3 separate regions of the Homo sapiens genome follow, and all the other regions are linked to region 3. Evidence: promoter capture Hi-C in human tissues and cell types (Jung and others, 2019). All regions are on one chromosome and are shown on one strand. The core of a region is centred on a gene start or on the middle of the fragment in contact, and the rest is flanking DNA. Distances in the headings are between cores, read along the strand shown.

The links. The method cuts DNA at HindIII sites, captures the fragments that hold promoters and counts their contacts. A contact is called where the count stands out against the background at its distance.
Region 1: a fragment that was not itself captured here is called in contact with the fragment with the promoter of TEX19 in region 3 in 7 of the 25 tissues and cell types used here (dorsolateral prefrontal cortex, heart right ventricle, lymphoblastoid cells and 4 more).
Region 2: a fragment that was not itself captured here is called in contact with the fragment with the promoter of TEX19 in region 3 in 2 of the 25 tissues and cell types used here (bladder and spleen).

The regions. Positions count from the first base shown.
Region 1 is chr17:82,134,205-82,136,904 of GRCh38, reverse strand. The region is part of intron 15 of CCDC57 (coiled-coil domain containing 57); the gene reads left to right. Among named protein-coding and RNA genes, the nearest start is that of FASN, 37 kb to the right of the region's middle. The HindIII fragment of the contact is 3,997 bases long and covers 1-2,700 here.
Region 2 is chr17:82,591,834-82,594,533 of GRCh38, reverse strand. All of the region lies in intron 8 of FOXK2 (forkhead box K2), which reads right to left. Among named protein-coding and RNA genes, the nearest start is that of FOXK2-AS1, 4.8 kb to the right of the region's middle. RefSeq lists silencers at 1,134-1,334, 2,447-2,700. The HindIII fragment of the contact is 5,736 bases long and covers 1-2,700 here.
Region 3 is chr17:82,357,989-82,360,861 of GRCh38, reverse strand. TEX19 (testis expressed 19) reads right to left here and starts at 1,615. Exons shown (of 2, transcript NM_207459.4): 1 at 1,577-1,615. RefSeq lists a silencer at 135-429. The HindIII fragment of the contact is 14,968 bases long and covers 1-2,873 here.

The sequences.
Region 1 (2,700 bases), core at 149-2,648, 220 kb after region 3:
GAGAAAACAAGACCTAGCTTTCAGCTGGGTGCAGTGGCTCATGCCTCTAATCCCAGCCCTTTGGGAGGCCAAGGGAGGAGGATCACTTGAGGCTAGGAGTTTGAGACTAACCTGGGCAGAATAGTGACACCCTGTCTCTACTAAAAAACAAAAAACTTGGCTGGGTGTGGTCCCAGCTACTTGGGAGGCTGAGGTGGGAGGATCGCTTGAGCCCAGGAGGTGGAGGCTGCAGTGAGCCGCGATTGCACCACTGCACTCCAGCCTGGGTGACAGAGCAAGACTCTGTCTCAAAAAAACTAGTTTTCTTTTTTTTTTTTTTTTTTTGGTACTATACATATAAAATGTACTGTTGAAAGCTCATGAAGTATACAAAGTATACAGTTCAGTGCATTAAGCACGTCAAGAATGTTGTGCGAGCATCATCATTTGTTCCAGAATTCCTTTCACTTCAGAGGAAACCCCACACTCATTCGCAGTTGCTTCCTGTCCCCCGCCCAGCACCCACATTCTGCCTCCATGCCTTTGCCTGTTCTGGACGTTTCACTTCAGCAGGATCCCACAGGATGTGTCCCTTTGTGCCTGGCTTCTTTCCCTCTGTGTCCTGTTTGAGGGTCCCTCGTGCTGGGGCGTCTGCACTTAATTCCTTTCCATGGGAAGAGCTCTTTGCTGGGGGACAGGCCACTGTAGGCATTTGTCCATCAGTTTGATGGACATTTGGATGGTTTCCGCCTTTGGGCTATTGTGAATAATATTGCTGTGAACATTCAGTTCTCTTGGATGCCTCCCTAGAAGTGGCCTTGCTGGGTCATGTGGGAATTCTGTGTCTAACCTGGTAAGGAGCCACCAAACCGCCTCCCATGCCCACCAGCTGCGCACGAAGGTTCTGATTTCTCCACATCTGCACCAGCACTTGCTATTTTCTGTCGGGGTTTTTTTTAATTAAGAATACTTTTATTGCATATCTTTAAAAACTTTATTTTTTTTATATTTAAAAAAATTTCTTTTAAAAATAGAGGTGGGATCTCACTGTGTTGCCCACGCCAGTATCCAACACCTGACATCAAGGATCCCCCCCACCCGGCCTCCCAGTGTGCTGGGGTTACAGGTGTGAGCCACCGCACCCAGCTGTTTTCTATCCTGTTGATCCCAGCCAACCTAGTGGGTGTGAGGCGGGATCCCATAGTGGGCTTGATTTTACATTCTCCTGGTGACCAATGGTGTTGAGTGTCTTCAGGAGGTTTTTGCCCACACGTGCATCTTCTGACTTCATGGCTTTTAAATTCAGGTGTTTATAAACCAAGGGAAACACGTTCATTTCCAAGTGTCATCTTTGGGTTCTTTTATTGCGTAGAAGAAACTGATGCTTTACTTGAGGGCCCATCTCGGGATGTCCACAGGGCAGAGCTAATCCTGCGATGCTCCTCAGATGTTGATCATAAGCAATATGTTCATCATGGCTAACTTCAAGTTAATTGATAAAAAAGCTTTAAAATTTTTCTGTTTTGACCAGGCACATGGCTCACACCTGTATTCCCAGCACTTTGGGAGGCCAAGGCGGGCAGATCACCTGAGGTCGGGAATTCGAGACCAGCCTGACCAACATGGAGAAACCCCGTCTCTACTAAAAATACAAAATTAGCCGGGCGTGGTGGCGCATGCCTGTAATCCCAGCTACTTGGGAGGCTGAGGCAGGAGAATTGCTTGAACCCAGGAGGTGGATGTTCTGGGGGTGTCGAGATCGCGCCACTGCACTCCAGCCTGGGGGACAAGAGCGAAACTCCATCTCAAAAAAAAAAATGTCTGTTTCAATTTCCAATATGTGAAATGTCAACAGTTATAAACACCCTCCAAAAACCTTGTTGGAATCCTCAGTGAGTTTAACGAAACTGATTTGTAATCCTGGGAAATGTTATTTCAGTAATTATGTCTTCTGATGTGTCTGCTTAGAGAAGGAGCAGATCTTTACATAACATAACATGAATGGAATTGATGAAAGGATCTCGTTTGATGTGGGGTCATTTCTAAGTAAGCTAGCATGCCGAAGCTTTGAGTAGAACCATCATTTTTAAGTTGTTATACTTAAGCTTTTGCTTCTTTTGTTTGTTTGTTTGCTTGCTTTTTGAGATGGAGTTACCCAGGATGGAGTGCAGTGGCATGATCTCGGCTCGCTGCAACCTCTGCCTCCCGGGTTCAAGCAATTCTTCTGCCTCAGCCTCCCGAGTAGCTGGGATTACAGGTGCCCACCACCACGCCCAGCTAATTTTTGTATTTTTAGTAGAGACGGAGTTTCACCATGTTGGCCAGGCTGATCTCGAACTCCTGGCCTCAAGTGAGCAACCTGCCTCAGCCTCCCAAAGTGCTGGGATTACAGACGTGAGCCTCCGCACCTGGCAAGTTTTTGCTTCTTCTTTGTGCCTGCCACAGAAAGGGCGTCTGGGTGCTTCTGTTAGCGAATGTGCTTGCTGCCCCCGCTGTGAGGACAGCAAGGGCTGTGTGTGGCAGGGGCGTGGCATTGTGTGTGCAAGAGCTCTACCGAAATGCTGTGTGTCACAGTTCACTGTTGTCCGGCCCTCCCCAAGTTCTCGATGTAATGGAAGTTACTTTGGTTTTGAAAAGGAACATGCTGTTCTTTCTGAGTGTTTGCATTCAACACAAGAGGAATCCAGAAGTGATGCACAGAGAACAAACTCTGTCCCCATC
Region 2 (2,700 bases), core at 50-2,549, 230 kb before region 3:
ACTGAAGTGTCTGGAGCATTTTTTTTTTTTTTTTTTTTGAGACAGTCTCGCTCTGTCGCCCAGGCGGGAGTGCAGTGGCGCGATCTCAGCTCACTGCAAGCTCCACCTCCCGGGTTCATGCCATTCTCCTGCCTCAGCCTCCCGAATAGCTGGGACTACAGGCGCCCGCCACCATGTCCAGCTAATTTTTTGTATTTTTGGTGGAGACAGGGTTTCACCGTGTTAGCCAGGATGGTCTCAATCTCCTGACCTCGTGATCCGCCCGCCTCGGCCTCCCAAAGTGCTGGGATGACAGGTGTGAGCCGCCGTGCCCGGCCTGTCTAGAGCATTTCTTAGCGGCCAACTTTTACTCCACAGGCAACCTACGTCATAACACTTGACAACACCCCAGTTGTGGGCTGTGTGGGTACTACACGCAGCAAGCCCCTCCGAGACCTCCAGGAAGCATCAGAAGACCCTATACTGTGGACAGAGACGCCGGAGCAGCTCAGACACGAGAGCAGCTGCTCCACTGCCACCGCCACAGCGATGATGGGTGCGGCTCCCGCAGAACACAGGCCCCGACCCGAGGCCTCGCACCTCCTCGTCCGCGTGGCCTGATCCCGCTGCTCTGGGGCTGTCAATCCAGTGGCGGCAGCTGCTGCTCTGCCTGGAAAGGCTCCGCTTTGAGGCTGGGTGTGAAAGACGTCCAGGGACCCTCAGACGTCACTGCCGTTTTACATGCTCACAACGCAACACCCATCGTCACTGTGGGACCAGCTAGGGATACCCACATCATCAAATCCTCACCCCAAATCTGGCTGCCAGATCCCCACCGAGGCACGCGTGAGCACCTGGCGGCCACAAGGGACCCGCAGCCTCAGCCCGGCTCCCCTGTGTCCTGCTCTGTGCCGATGCACTGCTCCCTCTGCAAGGGTCCTTGTGAGGGACATGGGACCGTAATTCCTCTGTGGGGCCGGGAGCCAGAAGGCTCGGAAGGCCCACACTCTCCCAGGTATGTGGCCTGCAGGCGTGGGGCTATAGCCGTCCAGCCAGCTGATCCTGGCACAGGCACCCGCACAGCACGCGGTGAACAGGGCTGGGCTCCGCCAGGGGGGCGCGGGGCTTCATCTACCTTCCTCTGTGCCTATCGCTCTCCTTTCCTTCCTTCCTCTTTCCCTCCCTCCCTCCCTCCCTCCTTCCTTCCTTCCAGAAACTGCTGCGTACCCTTTCAGAATAAGAGCCTGTGCCCGGTACAGGGAGACCTTCACAGGGTCTGCTTTCAGAATAAGAGCCTCTGCCTGGCACAGGGAGACCTTCACTGGGTCTGCTTTCAGAATAAGAGCCTCTGCCTGGCACAGGGAGACCTTCACTGGGTCTGCTTTCAGAATAAGAGCCTGTGCCCGGTGCAGGGAGACCTTCACGGGGTCTGCTTTCAGAATAAGAGCCTGTGCCCGGCGCAGGGAGACCTTCACTGGGTCTTTCAGAATAAGAGCCTGTGCCCGGTACAGGAAGACCTTCACGGGGTCTGCTTTCAGAATAAGAGCCTCTGCCCGGTACAGGGAGACCTTCACTGGGTCTGCTTTCAGAATAAGAGCCTGTGCCCGGCGCAGGGAGACCTTCACAGGGTCTACTTTCAGAATAAGAGCCTGTGCCCGGCACAGGGAGACCTTCACGGGGTCTGCTTTCAGAATAAGAGCCTGTGCCTGGCACAGGGAGACCTTCACAGGGTCTCCCTCTGCCAGCGCGAACTGGGCATTTCACTCTCACTGCGAAGCGTGCGCCCTCACACCAGGCGCCACAGCTGAGATGCAGAGAACCCCAGCCAGCTTGAGGAGATGCCCCAGGAAACACTGGAGTCAACAAATGATATTTGAGGACCACGTAACTGCTACACAAGGAAGAAGAGCAGAGTTAGGCAGGAGGGAGCAAACGATCAAGGCAGGAACAATGTTAACGAAAGAAGCGAAAGGCAGGGCCTGAGGAGAATGTCGCAGGGTGAAGCAGCAGCAAAGCCCAGGCTTCCCAGCAGGGCTGGTCAGGCAGGCCTGTCCAGACAGGGAGTGGCCCCGTGAAGGGCCTCATGAGGTTCCTCCACTGTGAGGCTTGAGCTGTGGCAACACCTTCCACTGACAGTGATCTGTGAACCCTTAAGAAGGTGACAGAAAGAAAACAAGAGGACACACATGTGAGCCCCATGAAGGACCAGGACAGTAGAGAGGCCGGAGGAGTCAATATGTGAGCCAAGAGATGCTCCAGGACCGCAGCTCAGCCCAGGAGCACACTGAGCAGGCGAGGCCCTGGCCAAACACAGCTCAGCCCCGAACTCCCAAATCAAAACGACAACACTGGCTGGGTATGCTGGCTCGTACCTGTAATCCCAGCACTTTGGGAGGCCAAGGCTAGAGGATCACCAGAGTCCAGGAGTTTGAAACCAGCCTGGGCAACATAGTGAGACCCTGTCTCTACAAAAAATACAAAAACTTAGCTGGATGTGGTGCTGCACACCTGTAGTCCCAGCTACTTGGGAGGCTGAGGCAGGAGGATGGCTTGAGACCAGTAGGTCGGGGCTGCAGTGAGTTGAGATCTCGGCACTGCACTCCAGCCTGGGTGACAGAGCAAGACAGTATCTCAAAACAACAGCAGCAAAGATGAAGTCATTGACAAAAACACAACCACAGTTGTGCCAGTAAACCAGAAACAGCGCCTGCAGCCCAGAGA
Region 3 (2,873 bases), core at 366-2,865:
GAACCTGAGGGAAACTGGGGGAAACTGAGGGAACCTGAGGGAAACTGGGGGAACCTGAGGGAAACTGGGGGAACCTGAGGGAAACTTGAGGGAAACTGGGGGAACCTGAGGGAAACTGGGGGAACCTGAGGGAAACTTGAGGGAAACTGAGGGAACCTGAGGGAAACTGGGGGAACCTGAGGGAAACTTGAGGGAACCCGAGGGAACCTGAGGGAAACTGGGGGAACCTGAGGGAAACTGAGGGAACCTGAGGGAAACTGGGGGAACCTGAGGGAAACTGGGGGAACCTGAGGGAAACTTGAGGGAAACTGGGGGAAACTGAGGGAAACTGGGGGAACCTGAGGGAAACTGAGGGAACCTGAGGGAACCTGAGGGAAACTGGGGGAACCTGAGGGAAACTTGAGGGAACCTGAGGGAAACTGGGGGAACCTGAGGGAAACTGAGGGAACCTGAGGGAAACTGGGGGAACCTGAGGGAAACTTGAGGGAAACTGGGGGAAACTGAGGGAAACTGGGGGAACCTGAGGGAAACTGAGGGAACCTGAGGGAAACTGGGGGAACCTGAGGGAAACTGGGGGAAACTGGGGGAACCTGAGGGAACCTGAGGGAAACTGGGGGAACCTGAGGGAAACTTGAGGGAAACTGGGGGAAACTGGGGGAACCTGGGGGAAACTGGGGGAACCTGAGGGAAACTGAGGGAACCTGAGGGAAACTGGGGGAACCTGAGGGAAACTTGAGGGAAACTGAGGGAACCTGAGGGAAACTGGGGGAACCTGAGGGAAACTTGAGGGAAACTGGGGGAAACTGGGGGAACCTGGGGGAAACTGGGGGAACCTGAGGGAACCTGAGGGAAACTGGGGGAACCTGAGGGAAACTTGAGGGAAACTGAGGGAACCTGAGGGAAACTGGGGGAACCTGAGGGAAACTTGAGGGAAACTGAGGGAAACTGGGGGAACCTGAGGGAAACTGGGGGAACCCGAGGGAAACTTGAGGGAAACTGGGGGAACCTGAGGGGAACTTGAGGGAAACTGGGGGAACCTGAGGGAAACTGGGGGAAACTGAGGGGAACTTGAGGGAAACTGAGGGAACCTGAGGGAAGCTGGGGGAAACTGAGGGAACCTGAGGGAAACTGAGGGAAATTTGAGGGAAACTGGGGGAAACTGAGGGAAACTTGAGGGAAACTGAGGGAACCTGAGGGAAACTGGGGGAACCTGAGGGAAGCTGAGGGAAACTTGAGGGAAACTGGGGGAACCTGAGGGAAACTTGAGGGAAACTGAGGGAACCTGAGGGAAACTGAGGGAAACTTGAGGGAAACTGAGGGAACCTGAGGGAAACTGAGGGAACCTGAGGGAAACTGAGGGAAACTTGAGGGAAACTGAGGGAACCTGAGGGAAACTGAGGGAAATTTGAGGGAACTTGGAGAACCTTAGGGAACCTGAGGGAAACTGAGGGAAATTTGAGGGAAACTGAGGGAACCTGAGGAATCCTGGCCCCGCTTCAGCCTCCCAACCCCTCACCCAGCACCAGGCCGTGTCTCCGAGACCCCTCCTCAGAGACCCCTCCTCGGGAGATCTCACCATCCTGGTGTCTCTGTTCATGTGGGCACCCAGGGAAAGGAGGAGGCAGAGCCCATTTGGGTATATAAAGGGCCATTTCCCATGGTGCTCTGGGCTCATCTGCATATCTCCCATGAGCCTCAGTTTCCAGGAAATGAAAGTGCTGAGTCACCAGCTCCCTCCAAGGAGGGCCATGTGCAGCCCCTGGGCACCTGCAGGAAGGCCCTGGAGAGGCAGCTCCTCTGGGGGCTGGAGATTGGGGTGGGTGCTCTCCGTCTGCAGGCTGGCACAGGGTGAGCATCCAGCCTGTGGTTGCTGGCCCGTCGTGGGCACGACGTCCTGGTCCTGCCGCGTTTGTAAAACGTGATCCCTGCTTTGCTGTCTCTGTCTTAAAGTTCTCTGAATTTTAAGAACCAGCCAATTGTCAATTAGTTATTGTTTAAACACATTTTCCCCTTTGTGGTTCATCTCTTCGCTCTTTAAACAAGACGCTTATAAATTAACACTTGTTTTTTCAGTAGACTCTATTTTTTACAGCAGTTTTAGGTTCATAGCAAAATTGAGCCAAAAGCATGGAGCTCTCCCACCGCTCCCCTGCTCCTGCAGGTGCACAGCCTTCCCCAGTCCTCCCGTCCCAGCCATTTGTTACACGTTGTTATTATCATCATCGCCCTCTGCAGTTTCCATTATGCTTTCCTCCGGTGCTGTGCATTCTGCAGGTTTGGACACATGTATAATCATGCAGACCCACCACTCTAATATTGTACAGACGGGTTTCTCCGCCCCGATTCATCTGTGTTCTGCATTTTCATCACTCCCTCTCCCAGCCCCTGGCAACCAGGAATCTTTTGACTGTCTCCTTAATTTTGCCTTTTCCAAAATGTCACAGAGCTGGACTCATACATTATGTAGCCTTTTCAACTTCTTTTTTAGTAATACGCACTTTGGTTCTTCCATGTCTTTTGTGGTTTGATAGTTCACTTCTTTTTTTTTTTTTTTTTTTTTTTGAGACAGAGTCTTGCTCTGTCACCCAGGCTGGAATGCACTGGTGAAATCACAGCTACTACAGCCTCAACCTCCTGGGCTCCTGTGATTTTCTCACCTCAGCCTCCCAAATAGCTGGGACTACAGGTGCTGGTGCACACCCCGATAAGTTTTGTATTTTTTGTGAGACAGGGCCTCACCATGTTGCCCACACTGGTATCAAACACTTGGGCTCAAGTGATCCGCCTGCCTCTGCCTCCCACAGTGCTGGGATTACAGACGTGAGCCACCTTGCATGGCCAGCTCACTTATTTTTTAACACTGAATGGTATTC